Linked DNA regions of Homo sapiens: region 1 is linked to region 2. Evidence: promoter capture Hi-C in human tissues and cell types (Jung and others, 2019). All regions are on one chromosome and are shown on one strand. Each heading gives the region's core, a stretch centred on a gene start or on the middle of the fragment in contact. The rest is flanking DNA. Distances are from core to core; before and after follow the strand shown. Region 1 overlaps LOC107986309 (a long non-coding RNA gene). Region 2 holds the start of QRFPR (pyroglutamylated RFamide peptide receptor).

What was found. The method cuts DNA at HindIII sites, captures the fragments that hold promoters and counts their contacts. A contact is called where the count stands out against the background at its distance.
Region 1: a fragment that was not itself captured here is called in contact with the fragment with the promoter of QRFPR in region 2 in 1 of the 25 tissues and cell types used here (H1 embryonic stem cells).

What each region holds. Positions count from the first base shown.
Region 1 is chr4:121,433,175-121,439,467 of GRCh38, forward strand. The region is part of intron 1 of LOC107986309 (a long non-coding RNA gene); the gene reads left to right. Among named protein-coding and RNA genes, the nearest start is that of QRFPR, 55 kb to the left of the region's middle. The HindIII fragment of the contact is 4,542 bases long and covers 1,459-6,000 here.
Region 2 is chr4:121,376,920-121,384,151 of GRCh38, forward strand. QRFPR (pyroglutamylated RFamide peptide receptor) reads right to left here and starts at 4,099. Exons shown (of 6, transcript NM_198179.3): 1 at 3,389-4,099. The coding sequence starts at 3,728. RefSeq lists an enhancer at 3,885-4,669. The HindIII fragment of the contact is 9,664 bases long and covers 949-7,232 here.

The DNA.
Region 1 (6,293 bases), core at 2,480-4,979, 56 kb after region 2:
ATTTATTCCTAGGTATTTTCTTTTTTATTTTTGTAGCATTGTAAATGGAATTGCCTTCTTGATTTCTTTCTAAGGCAGTTCATTATTGGTATACAGAAATGCTACTGATTTAAAATTTTTTAAATTTTTGTGGGTACATTGGTGTATATATCTATGGGGTACATGAGATATTTTGATACAGCCATACAATACACAGTGGTCACATCAGAGTAAATAGGGTATTGTATTAGTCCATGTTCATGCTGTTGATAAAGACGTCCTCAAGACTGAGAAGAAAAAAAGGTTTAATGGACTTACAGTTCCATGTGGCTGGGGACTCCTCACAACCATGGAAGGTGAAAGACATATCCCACATGGTGGCAGACAAGAGAAGAGAGCTTGTGCAGGGAAACTCCCATTTTTTTAAAAACCATCAGATTTTATGAGACTTATTCACTATCACAAGAAAAGCACAGGAAAGACTTGCCCTCACGATTCACTCATCTCCCACCAGGTCCCTCCCACAACATGTGGAAATTATGGGAACTACAAGATGAGATTTGGGTGGGCACACAGAGCCAAACCATATCCTTTCACCCCTGGCCCCTCTCAAATCTCATGTCCTCACGTTTCAAAACCAATCATGCCTTCCCAACAGTCCCCCAAAGTCTCAACTCATTTCAGAATTAACTCAAAAGTCCACAGTCCAGAGTCTCATCTGAGACGATGCAAGTCCCTTCTACTGATGAGCCTGTAAAATCAAAAGCAAGTTAGTTAGTTCTAGATACAGTGGAGTACAAGCATTGAGTAAATACAGCCATTCCAAATGTGAGACACTGGCCAAAATAACGTGGCTACAAGCCCCATGAAAGTCCAAAATCCAGTGGGGCAGTCAAATCTTAAATGTCCAAAATGATTTCCTTTGACTCCATGTCTCACATCCAGGTCATGCTGATGCAAGAGGTGGGTTTCCACGGTCTTGGACAGCTCTGCCCTCGTGGCTTTGCCAGGTACAGCCTCCCTCCGGGCTGCTTTCATGAGCTGGCATTGAGTTTCTGCAGCTTTTCCAGGTGCATGATGCAAGCTGTCAGTGGATCTACCATTCTGGGGTCTGGAGGATGGTGGCCTCCTTCTCACAGCTCCACTAGGTTGTGCTCCAGTAGGGACTCTGTGTGGGGGCTTCAACCCCACATTTTCCTTCCACATTGCCCTAGCAGAAATTCTCCATGAGAGCCCCACCCCTGCAGCAAACTTCTGCCTGGACATCCAGGCACTTCCATACATCTTCTGAAACCCAGGTGGAGATTTCCAAACACCATTTCTTGACTTCTGTGCACTGGCAGGCTCAACACCACATGGAAGCTGCCAAGGTTTGGGGCTTGCACCCTCTGAAGCCACAACCTAAGCTCTGCATTAGCCCTTTCAGCCATGGCTGGAGTGACTAGGACATAGGGCACCAAGTCCCTAGGCTGCATACAGCATGGAGACCCTGGAGCTGGCCCACTAAACCACTTTTTCCTCCTCGGCCTCTGGGCTTGTGATGGAAGGGCCTGCCATGAAGACCTCTGACATGCTCTGGAGACATTTTCCCCATTGTCTTCGGGATTAACATTCAGGTCCTCATTACCTATGCAAATTTCTGTAGCCAGCTTGGATTTCTCCTCAGAAAATGGGCTTTTCTTTTCTATTGCATTGTCAGGCTGCAAATTTTCCAAACTTTTATTCTCTGTTTCCCTTTTAAAACTGAGTGCCTTTAACAGTACTCAAGTCACTTCTTGAATGTTTTGCTGATTAGAAATTTTTTCCACCAGATACCCTAAATCATCTCTCTCAAGTTCAAATTTCCACAAATCTCTAGAGCAGGGGCAAAATGCTGCCAGTATCTTTGCTAAAACATAACAAGAGTCACCTTTGCTCCAATTCCCAACAAGTTCCTTATTTCCATCTGAGACCACCTCAGCCCTAACCTTATTGTCCATATCGCTATCAGGATTTTGTTCAAGGCCATTCAACAAGCATCTAGGAAGCTCCACACTTTCCTGCATTTTTCTGTCTTCTTCTGAGCCCTCCAAACAATTTCAACCTCTGCTTGTTAACCAGTTTCAAAGTTGCATCCACATTTTTGGGTATCTTTTCAGCAACGCCCCACTCTGCTAGTACCAATTTACGTATTAATCTGCTTTCATACTGCTGATAAAGACATACACGAGACTGAAGTAAAAAACGTTTAATGGACTTACAGTTCCATGTGGCTGCGAATGACTCACAATTATGGTGGAATGTGAAAGGCATGTCTCACATGGCAGGAGATAAGAGAAGAGAGCTTGTGCAGGGAAACTCCCATTTTTTTCAAAGCCATCAGATCTTGTGAGACTTATTCACTATCATAAGAAGAGGATGGGAAAGACCTGGACCCAGGATTCAGTCATCTCCAACTGGGTCCCTCTCACAACACATGGGAATTATGGGAGCTACAAGATGAGTTTGGGTGGGGACACAGAACCAAACCATATTAGATATCCATCACCTCAAGCAATTATTTTTTCTTTGTGTTATAAACAATTCTATTATACTCTTTTAAATATACAACAAATTATTGACTGTAGTCACCCTGTTGTGCTATCAAATACTAGATTTTATTCATTCTATCTAACTATGTTTTTGTACCAATTAGCTGTGCTCAATTCCTCCTGCCACTCGTTTCCCAGTCTCTGGTAACCATCATTCTACTGTCTATTTTTCGTGGGTTCAACTGTTTTAATTTTTAGCTTCCACAATTAAGTGAAAAATGAAAAATATGTCTTCTATGCCTGGCTAATTTCACTTATTATAATGTCCTCCAGTTCCATCCATGTTGTTGCAAATGACAGGATCTCATTATTTTTTATGGCTGAATACTACTCCATTGTGTAAACATACCACATTTTCTTTATCTTGTTATCTGTTGATGGACACCTAGGTTGCTTCCAAATCCTGGCTATTGTGAATAGTGCTGTAATAAGCATGAGAGTACAGATATTTCTTCAATATACTAATTTCCTTTCTTTTGGGTGTATGCCTAACAATGGAATTCCTGGATCATATGATAGTTCTACTTTTAGTTGTTTGAAGAACCTCTGAACTGTTCTCCATTGTGATTGTACTAATTTATGTTCATACCAACAGTGTATGAGAGTTCTTTCTCTGTGTCCTTGTCAGCATTTCTTATTGCCTGTCTTTTGAATAAAAGCCATTTTAATTAGTAAGATGATATCTCATTGTAGTTTTGATTTGCATTTCTCTGATGATCAATTATGTTGAGCATCTTTTCATATATCTGTTTGCCATTTGTAAGTTTTTTTTTTTAGGAATGTCTATTCAGATCATTTGCCCATATTTTAATCAGATCATTTGTTTTTTCCTATAGAGTTGTTTGAGCTAATTACATATTCTGGTTATTTATCCTTTATCAGACACAGTTTCACCTTAACATTTGGCTTATGATAAGGAGTCCAGCAACCACCATGAGACACATTTTGTCCCAAACTCAATTCTAAACTTCAGGTCAAAGCCCTAGGAAAGAAAACTGGATCTAAGGGATCCAGAGGCAGATGACAATAGAAGTTAAAAGGCACAGTGCAAGTAAACATGGCTGATTCCTGCCAATAAAGCCAAACCCAAGCTTCTTGTTTCATGGATAAAGGCCATGTTAGTATCTGTGGCATAAATGAGGTCTAGGGAATTCAAGGCTACTGAAACCAGGAGAAATACGGTGTATGTGGGTAAAAGCAGACGATTTCCACCTTCTAGGCCCCCCTGCTTCATGGGTGCAAGTCACTTTAACACCCGTGGCGGCACCTGCCAAGTTCGCTGGGACTTGGGAATGGAAGAGGGAAAGAGGATACTCTTCCCTCTCTCCCTCATGTACCCTGGGTATCTGCTAGGAAGAGAAGGGAACCAGGCATACCTGCTCCCCTCTTTCTAGATAGGAAGCCATTCATCTTCAGTCTGTACCCCTTTCAAATGCATCCTGAACCCCTGGGATTCCTTTGAAAAAATGCCTTCTTTTTCCCTTTCTCCTTCTCAGTTCTCTCTTCGCTGATAAATAATTGCTATATATATATATACATATATATATATATACACACATATATATATGTATACATATGTATATATATATATATCTGAGTGCTCAAATATTGGTTATATCTCTGTTTAGATTGTTATATCCTCTTGCTTACTTGATTACTTTATCATGATATAATTACCTTCTTTGTCTCTTTTTACTATTTTTGACTTAAAATCTGTTTTATCTGATATAACTATAGCTACTCCTGCTCACATTTTGTTGCCCATTTACATGGAATATCTTTTTCTACCTCTTTACTTTCAGTCTATGTGTATGTGTCTCTACAGATGAGGTAAGTTTCTTGTAGGCAGCACATAGTTGGGTTTTTTGTTTTTCATTTTGGTCCATTCAGCCTGCCTGTATTTTTTTTTTTTTGAGACAGAGTCTTGCTCTGTTGTTTGGCTAGTGTACAGTGGCATGAGCTCAGCTCACTGCAACCTCTACCTCCTGGGTTCAAATGATTATCCTGCCTCAGCCTCTCTAGTAGCTGGGATTACAGGCACCTGCCACAAGTCCCATCTTTTTTTTTTTTTTTTTTTTTTTTTTTTTTTGTATTTTTAGTAGGGACAGGGTTTGACCATGTTGGCCAGGCTGGTTTCAAATTCCTGACCTCAGTGATCCACCCACCTTGGCCTCCCAAAGTGCTGGGATTACAAGCATAAGCCACCATGCCTGGCCAGTGTATGTCTTTTAAATGGAAAGTTTAATCTGTTTACCTTCAAGGTTATTATTGATATGTGAAGGCTTATTCCTGTCATTTTATTGTTTTCTGGTTGTTTTGTGTATCCGTTGTTCCGTTCTTTCTTATTGTTTATCATTGTAGTTTCATGGTTTCCTGTAGTGATAACATTTGAGTTCTTTTTATTCCTTATTTGTGTGTGCTCTACCAGTGAGTTTAATATTTTCGTGTGTTTTTACGGTGGTAGATATTGTTCGTTTACTTCCAGATGTAGGACTCCCTGAAGCATTTCTCGAAGGGCCAGTCTAGTGGTGATGTATTCATTCAGCTTTTGCTTATCTAGAGAAGACTTTATTTCTCCATCATTTATGAAGGATAAATTTGCTAGTGTAATATCCTTAGCAGATAGGTGGTTTTCTTTCAGCACTTTGATTATATTATCACATTCTCTTCTGTTCTGAAGGGTTTCTGCTGAGAAATCTGTAGGGTCTGATGGTAATTCCCCTAAGAGTGACTAGACACTTTCCTCTTGCTGGCTTTAGAATTATCTCTTTGTCCTTGACTTTTGACAGTTGACAGTAATGTGCTCTGGAGAAGGCCTTTTTAGTTTGTATCTATCTGGTCATGCCTGAGCTGCCTATATTTAGATGTCTCAATCTCCTGCTAGACTTTGGTTGTTTTTAAGCTATTATTTCAATAAATAGGCTTTTTAAAATCCCTTTGGTTTTCTCTTCACTTTAAGGAATACTAAACATTTTTATATTTGGTCATTTTATGGTGCCCTATATGTCACATAGTCTTTGTTCATTCTTTTTAACTCTTTTTTCTTTAATTCTGTCTAACCAGTTTATTTCAAAAGACCTCCCTTAAAGTTCTAATATTCCTTCTTTCTTGATGTAGTCTACTGTTAAAGCTCTCAAATGTATTTTTTATTTTATTCAATAAATTCTTGCGTTCCAGAATTTCTGTTTTGTTCTTTTTTATGGTATCTATCTATTTGGTAAATTTCTCATCCACATCTTAAATAGTTTTTACAATTTCTTTGTATTATTTATCTGTGTTCTCTTATATTTCACTGAGGTCCTTTAATATCATTATTTTAAGTTCTTTTTTTGGCATTTCCTAAATTCTTTTTTATTAGAATCTGTTTCTGGGGAATTATTGTTTTCCTTTGGAAACATCATATTTCCTTTTTAAATATATTTCTTGTGTCTTTACACTGATAACTGTACTTCTGGTATAATAGTTACTTCTTCTAGTTTTTTGGGTTTACTTTCATAGGGGAGGACTTTTCCCTGAAGATATATCTATGATTTTGGTTGGGTATAGCAGTTTGACTTTGATTCTGGGTGTCTGCAGTAGTGTAGTCTCTGTATAATTCCTTCAGTTATAAATAGCATCAGTGCTGTCTGTGATTTCCTCAGTCACTTAGGGTAAACTTGTTAGTAGAGGCTGTGGTGAAGTTTTGCTCGAGATGGTGATGCCAAGTGGGCCTGTCCTTGGACCCAAATGGTGGAAGCAGTGGGC
Region 2 (7,232 bases), core at 2,849-5,348:
TTGTTAAAAAGCAGGTTTTGACTCAATAGGTGCTGCTGGTCCCCAGCAAGAAAGAGGAATGGACTGAAAGAAGAATAAAACAGTCATTCACAGTCTTAGCATTGTCAGAAATATTTGAGAGACAGGCAATGTAGAGATGTGACAAACTGGAAGTCCATGAATTATTTCTGACCAAGCCATAGAGATGTTTTCTTTTACCTGATTGCATTTTACTTTTTGTATTTGACTTAGAAGTCAGCATCATAAAAATCTGTATTCCCAGCTTTTCAGAAGGAGAGGTGGGGAAGCAAGAACAACAACAAAAGAAGATGTGACAATCCTGGGCACCACTCCAGCATGCTGCAATCCTGCCCCCTTTAGAGGAGACAGTCTTCCTTTTGTCGCCGTTGCTTCCTGGTGATCTTCATTGCTTTGTTTGTGTTTCCTACCTCACCCCTGAAGGAATTTGAGGGGTATTCATATTTTAGGTTTTTACATAACTATATATATATATATTTTTTTTTTTTTCCTCCCCAGTTGCACTACTTTTCTGTCTCATTTCCTGCCATTCCCCACATATAACCTGTGCATTCTTGCAATGCCTTGCACGGTATTCTTGGAACACACCATCTTCTTTCTTCCCTCCAACTTGGCACTGACCCCTATTCCTAGAACACACTCCATCCTCTGCTGGAAAGAGTCTAAATTATTCTCTGAATTATTCTTCCAGACCCAGCTTGAACATCACATCCTTCAGGAAGCCTTCCTGACTCTTCTGTGCTCGTAGAGCAAAGTGGATCCTTTTTCTATCAAATCCTGTTTTTGCTCATTTTGGGGCCATCTCCTATTCTCTGAGGTCCTGAAGGGCACAGATAGACTTTACTCACTTTTGTACTCTCAAGGTAGAACACTTTTCCAGATAGGAGATCCTCAATAGCTTTGTAAAATAATAAATTATGAATTAATTTTTGGCTCTTAGATTACATTCTCTTGAACTTTGGTTAATTTATCAAGGAAATTTTGCCATGATTATCCTGTCCTATAATGCGCAAGTTAATTCTATTTTCATATTGATCTCTAGCCCCTCTGCATGCTCTCACCTCTCCCTCGCACTTCAATTTTGGTATTATTTACTCAATTTATAAGATCATTATTTATTCTATAAATCTGGTCCCAGATAAACATAGGCCACCTCCAATTAAACACCCCTTAATAGAATTAATACCTTATACTTTCATGGCATGACCAATATTTTTCAAAGCACTTTTACTAACACACTTTATTCTCACACTAACCCTATAAAATAAATGAGCAATATATTACTCTCCTTCAGTATTTAGAAGCTAAAGTGAAATGTTCTCCATGAAGTAAGAAGCAGGGAGAAAAGAAAACTTGAGAAAAACCTTGGCAGTGCCCAAATAAGCCCTGAGGATGGAAGATGCACCATATGGCCTTTCTTGGCCATGATTCCCCAACATGAACTGGAGCTAAAGATCTGGCTCACTGCACTTTTTTTTTTTTTTTTTTTTTTTGAGACGGAGTCTTGCTCTGTCACCCAGGTTGGAGTGCAGTAGCGTGATCTCGGCTCACTACAACCTCTGCCTCCCGGGGTCAAGCCAAGTCTCCTGCCTCAACCTCCTGAGCAGCTGGGACTATAGGTGCGTGCCACGATGCCCGGCTAATTTTTTGTTGTTGTTTGTATTTTTAGTAGAGACGGGGTTTCACCGTGTTAGCCAGAATGGTCTCGATCTCATGACCTCGTGATCCGCCCGCCTCGGCCTCCCAAAGTGTTGGGATTACAGGCGTGAGCCACCACGCCTGGCCAGACTCACTGCACTTTCAAACTTCTCTAATCCCTAATATTTTACTGAAAAATTGAGACCCAGACATACTAAATTAACATGTATTACAGCCAAAATAGTAATCCAGTTCTTTTGATCCCCACCATAAAATCCCACTTTGCATAATTATTTTCACCTTTACAAATGGAGCTATAATCATCCCCAGCACAAAGAAGCCTCATAAATCTGCTTTCACAAACATTTAGAAATGAAAACTCATGTGCTTTTCCCCAAAAACCAAGTTCCGTATGATGATCAAAAAATACCCCATTAATTTTATGGAGTTAGTTGCACTGAGCAACTTTAAAATGCCCAAATACAATTACTGCATCAGAGTGCATAAGAAAGTCTCTAATCCATAAATCAAGGTCTTACTTTCCACATTGTGTATTACTTTCAAGTCAATGCTCTGTACTCAATGTTTAATGCTTTTTTGAAAATATTTACATTATAGATTGATAAGAATCAAGGACTTTAACATTCTGACTGACTAACAGCAAACTCAGTTTAAGCTAATGAGAAAAAAAGCAATGCTCACGATCTCAAATTGGTAATGGTAGGATGAAACACCCTCCATGAGTTTAAGAGAATTAGTAATGGGATAGAAATAGCAGAGATTGAAGGCATAATGATCTATTTCTCTTACATTTCTAACCATTTTGATGTGGCCACAAGAATACACCCAACCGTGAAAAAGGGGAGGCCCATGGTGCACCTTAAGCACTGGTGAGAATACAACACACTACTGCTCCTGGGTTTACACCAGGGCATTCTCCAGCTGTGTTCTTGGAAAAGCTGGATCATCTCAAGAAATATATCTTTTTTTCCAACCTCCACACACTGCTCCCAACTCAGTGACTCCACCTCTCCTCTGTCATTTTTTTTCCCCCATTATACGGAAGGAGGAGAATGTTATCTCTTCTTTTATAATAGGAGGGCATCAGTTTTCTGTGTTCCTTCTTCCTGCATGACACTTAATACAGTTTTTAAAAGGACTAGTTCAATATATTTTTTCTGCACATGAATTATATTTGTTTTATGCTCATAGGTACAAGAAGCTGTCTGCAAGCAACTGGGAAGTGAGGCTGGAGGGTGGGGGAATGAGGAAATGAGATTTTTAACTTTGGTTTAATTATTTGAAATATTTTTATCTCACTTTTAGTAAGAAAACTAGGGGAGAAAAACCTGGTAATGACGGGAAAGGGAGCTGAAATAAGTGGCGAGGGGTGCGACTTCCTGCCTCACTGCTCGGGACCTTTCCGAAGCTTTTCCCCAACCTATGTCTCTAAGCCACAAGGAGGAAGCACTGGAGGGGAATCAGAGGCGGCCAAAAGAACTTATGTCCAGGTGAACACAGGTGGCGAAGTTCTAAGAAAGAGCACCGGATTCATTTGACAGAGAAGTGTAAGGAAGAGACAGACGAGAGAGAGACAGACAGACGAGAGAGGAGAGAGAGAGAGAGAGAGAGAGAGAGAGAGAGAGAGAGAGAGAGAGAGAGAGAGAGAGAGATCCCCTGAAAGGCAGAGGGTTAAGAGAGAAGGAGCGAAGGAGCGGGGCGCGACTCTTACCCCCCAGCCAGTTGTCGGAAATGTTCTGGAGCATGGTGACGGGAATGCAGAAGAAGGTGATGAGCAGGTCACTGAGCGCCAAGGAGCAGATAAAGATGTTGGTGACGGTGCGCATGGCCTTGCTGCGGGTCACCACGTAGAACACCAGAGCATTGCCAAAGAGCGCCAGGGCGAAGATGAGCACGCCGGTGAGCACGAGGGCCAGCTTGGCGCGTCCCGGCAGCTCTGGGGTGTAGACGAGCGGTCGCAGCCGGTACAGAGCGATGAACTGCTCCCGCGTCAGGTTGTGGTCCCGCAGCAGCCGAGAGAACTGCTCCGGGGTAATGTTAAGCGCCTGCATTGCTGTGCGCTCCCGGGACGCGGGGCCACCGCCCGCTACTGGCTGGCCATCCGCATCTGCGGGGCAGCGAGGGCTTCGGGGGACCAGCCGGAGGCCGCCTCCCTTCCTCTACTCTGGAGTCAGCCGCGCGGGAGGGCTCTAGGCTGCACCCCGGGAGGTTCGGGAAAGGAGAGCAGCTCAGGGATCAAACCCACGATAAAGAGGCGGGAAGCCAAAGCACTGGGAGACTCGATCTCAGTGACCAAAAAATGTTCGCGGTTCAAATAAAGTTCTTCCCTTGCTCTTCCCTAAGGCGAGGCGCCGCCACGGTCTGGGGTGCTGGAGCGCCACGCGAGGGTCCTGGCGCCTCTGGCTCCCCGCCTTCTGGCCATGCGATGCGGACGCCGGACCCGCTTGGGGAGCGGTGGAGGGTGGGGCTGAACTCGGTGACGCCTCCCTCACACCCAGCTTCAGTGGCGCCAACGCCGCTTCCCCGCACCCTCAGGGCGAGGGAAGACTTCCCTGGCTCACCAACTTGCTGCCGCCCAGCGCCTTTCTCAGGGCATGGCCCCAGTCAGGTAATGCTTGTATGTGAAACTGGGTATTGGGGGGTTCCACAGTTTCAAGTTTCTCCTCTTGCGTAATAATGGGAGCCACAACTACCCAAGGCAAATAGGGCTTATTTTAAATTATTTTCTGTATTGAAAAATAATTAAGATAGTTAAAATATAGAACTTGGGAAATGGCAAAGATAATACAGAAAGATCCTGCGTACCCACCCTTCACCCAGTTTCTTTCATTCATTACATCTTATTTAACTACGGAACAATACAAAACCAGGAATTTGACACAGGTACAGTGTTTGCATGTTTTTATCTCAAGTGTAGATTCCCGTAACCGTCAGGATACAAACTCTTCTATCACCACAAAAATCTCCCTGGTGCTTTTTATACTCACACCTAGCCCCTCCCTCCACCATCTCTAACTCCTGGCAACCACTAATATGTTCTCTCTTAACTTTTGTCAGAACATTACGTAAGGGAAATCATACAATATGCTGCCTTTTGATATTGAATTTTCTTCGCTCAGCCTAATGCCCTTTAAATCCATCCAAGTTGTTGCATGTATTAATGGCTGTTTCTTTTTATTGCTGAGGCTGTATCACCGTTTATTTAACCATCCACCTCTTGTAGAACATTTTGGTTGATTACCATTTTGAGCTATTAAAAATAAAGCTGCTATAAAGAATCATGTACAGGTTTTTGTGTGAACATAGTTTTCCTTTCTATAGGAAATGCCAAAAGTTTTGATTATTGAATCTGTAATGTGTATATTTAATTTTTAAAGAGATTGACTACTTTTCAGAGTGGCTGTACAAGTCTCCATCTCTACCATCAATGCATGAGAAGTTACGTTTCTCCACATCCTTGCCAGCATTTGGTTTTGCTGCTTTTTTTTTTTAAGCTATTCTAATAGATCTGTAGTGATATCTCTTTAGGGCCTTAATTTACATTTACCTAATGGCAAGTAATATTGAACATCTCATGTGCTTATTTGCCGTCCTTGAATCTTCTTTGGTGAAATGTCTTTCCATGTGTTTTGTCCGTTTCTAATTGCATGGTTTAGTTTATTTGCTGTTGAAAGTTCTTTTTATATTCTACATACAAGTCCTTTGTTAGTAAACGGTTTGCAAATATGTTCTTCCAGTCTGTAGCTTGTTATTTATCTTCTTAACAGGGACTTTCACAGAACAGCTTTTAGTTTTAGTGAAGTCATATTTATCAATATTTTCTTTTATAGATAGCTTTTAGTGTTCAGTCTAACTTCACCAAAGCCTATTTCTCAAAAACTTTCTCTTAGGTATTTTTCTAAAAGTGTTATAGTTTTACATTTTATGTTTTGGGCTCTCTATTCTGTTGAATTGATCTATGTGTCTATCCTCCACATTCTTGACTACTGTAGCTATATAATAAGTTTTGAAATCAGGTAGCATGATTTCTCATACTTCATTCTTATTTTTCAAAATTATTGTAACTATTCTAGGACCTGTGCCTATTCATATACATTTTACAATCAACTTGTCTATGTCTACAAAAAACCTTGCTGGGATTTTGATAGAAATTGACATATTTACTAGGTTGAGTTTTTCAATCCATGAGAAGAATGTCTTTCCATAAATTTACATCTTTGATTTATTTCAAAGGCATTTTACAGTTTTCAGCATGTAAGTCCTGTACATATTTTTAGATTTGCACCTAAGTATTTCATTTTGGGCGGACATTTGTACACGGTACTGTACTGAATTTCTAATTTTTGGTTCCATGTGTTCATTACTAGTATGCAGAAATCCAATTTATTTCGTATGTTGATCTTGATTCCTCCAATGTTGATGAATTCACTTAATTTTATTAGGAGGTTGATATGATTTGGCTCTGTGTCCCCACCCAAATCTCATCTTGTAGCTCCCATAATTCCCATGTGTTGTGGGAGGGACCAGTGGGAGATGATTGAATCATGGGGGTGGGTCTTTCCACGATGTTCTCATGATAGTGAATGGGTCTCATGAGATCTGATGGTTTTAAAAACAGCAGTTTCTCTGCACAAGTTCTCTCTTTGCCTGCTGCCATCTATGTAAGATGTGACCTATTCCTCCTTGCCTTCCACCTTGATTGTGAGGTCTTCCCAGCCATGTGGGACTGTAAATCCAGTAAACCTCTTTCTTTTGTAAATTGCCCAGTCTTGGGTATGTCTTTATCAGCAGTGTGAAAATGGACTAATACAGAGGGTTTTTTGGTAGATTTCTTGCATAGACAATCACATTATCTGAGAAGAAAGACAGTTTTATTTCTTCCTTTCTGATTTGTATGCTCTTTATTTCTGGTTTTAGCTGTTGTTTGTTTGGTTGTTGTTTTTGTTTTCTTTTGTTTTTTTTTTTTTTTATTTTTTGCCTAACTGCAATGGTTGGAGTACACAGTTTACTATGTTAAATGGCAATGGAGAATGGAGATCATCCTTGTCTTGTCCTCAATCTTATAAGGATGTATTCAGCCTTCTTTCACCATTAAGTATGATGTTAGTTGCAGATGTTCTTTATCAACTTGAGAAGGTTACTGTCTATTCTCAACTTCTTGAGAGATTCTATCAATGGTGTTAAATTTTGTTAAATGATTTTTCTGCATCAATTAATACTATCAATGTGATTTTTTTCTTCAGCCTGTTAAAATGGTGAATTGCATTGATTGACTTTTGAATATTGAATCAGCTTTGAATATTTGAAATAAACCCCATCTTAGTCGTGGTGTGTAATTCTTTATATATATTGTTAAATTCTATTAGTTAGGATTTTAAAGAATTTTATGTATATCTTCATGAGGGCTATTGGTCTGTAACTTTTTTTTCTTTTTGTATTTTTTATCCTGGTTTTGGCAGTCAGGTAATAATAGCATCATAGAATGAATTGAGAAGCATTCTCTCCTTTTCTATTTTCTGGAAAAGACTGTGTAGAAATGGTATTAATTCTTCTTT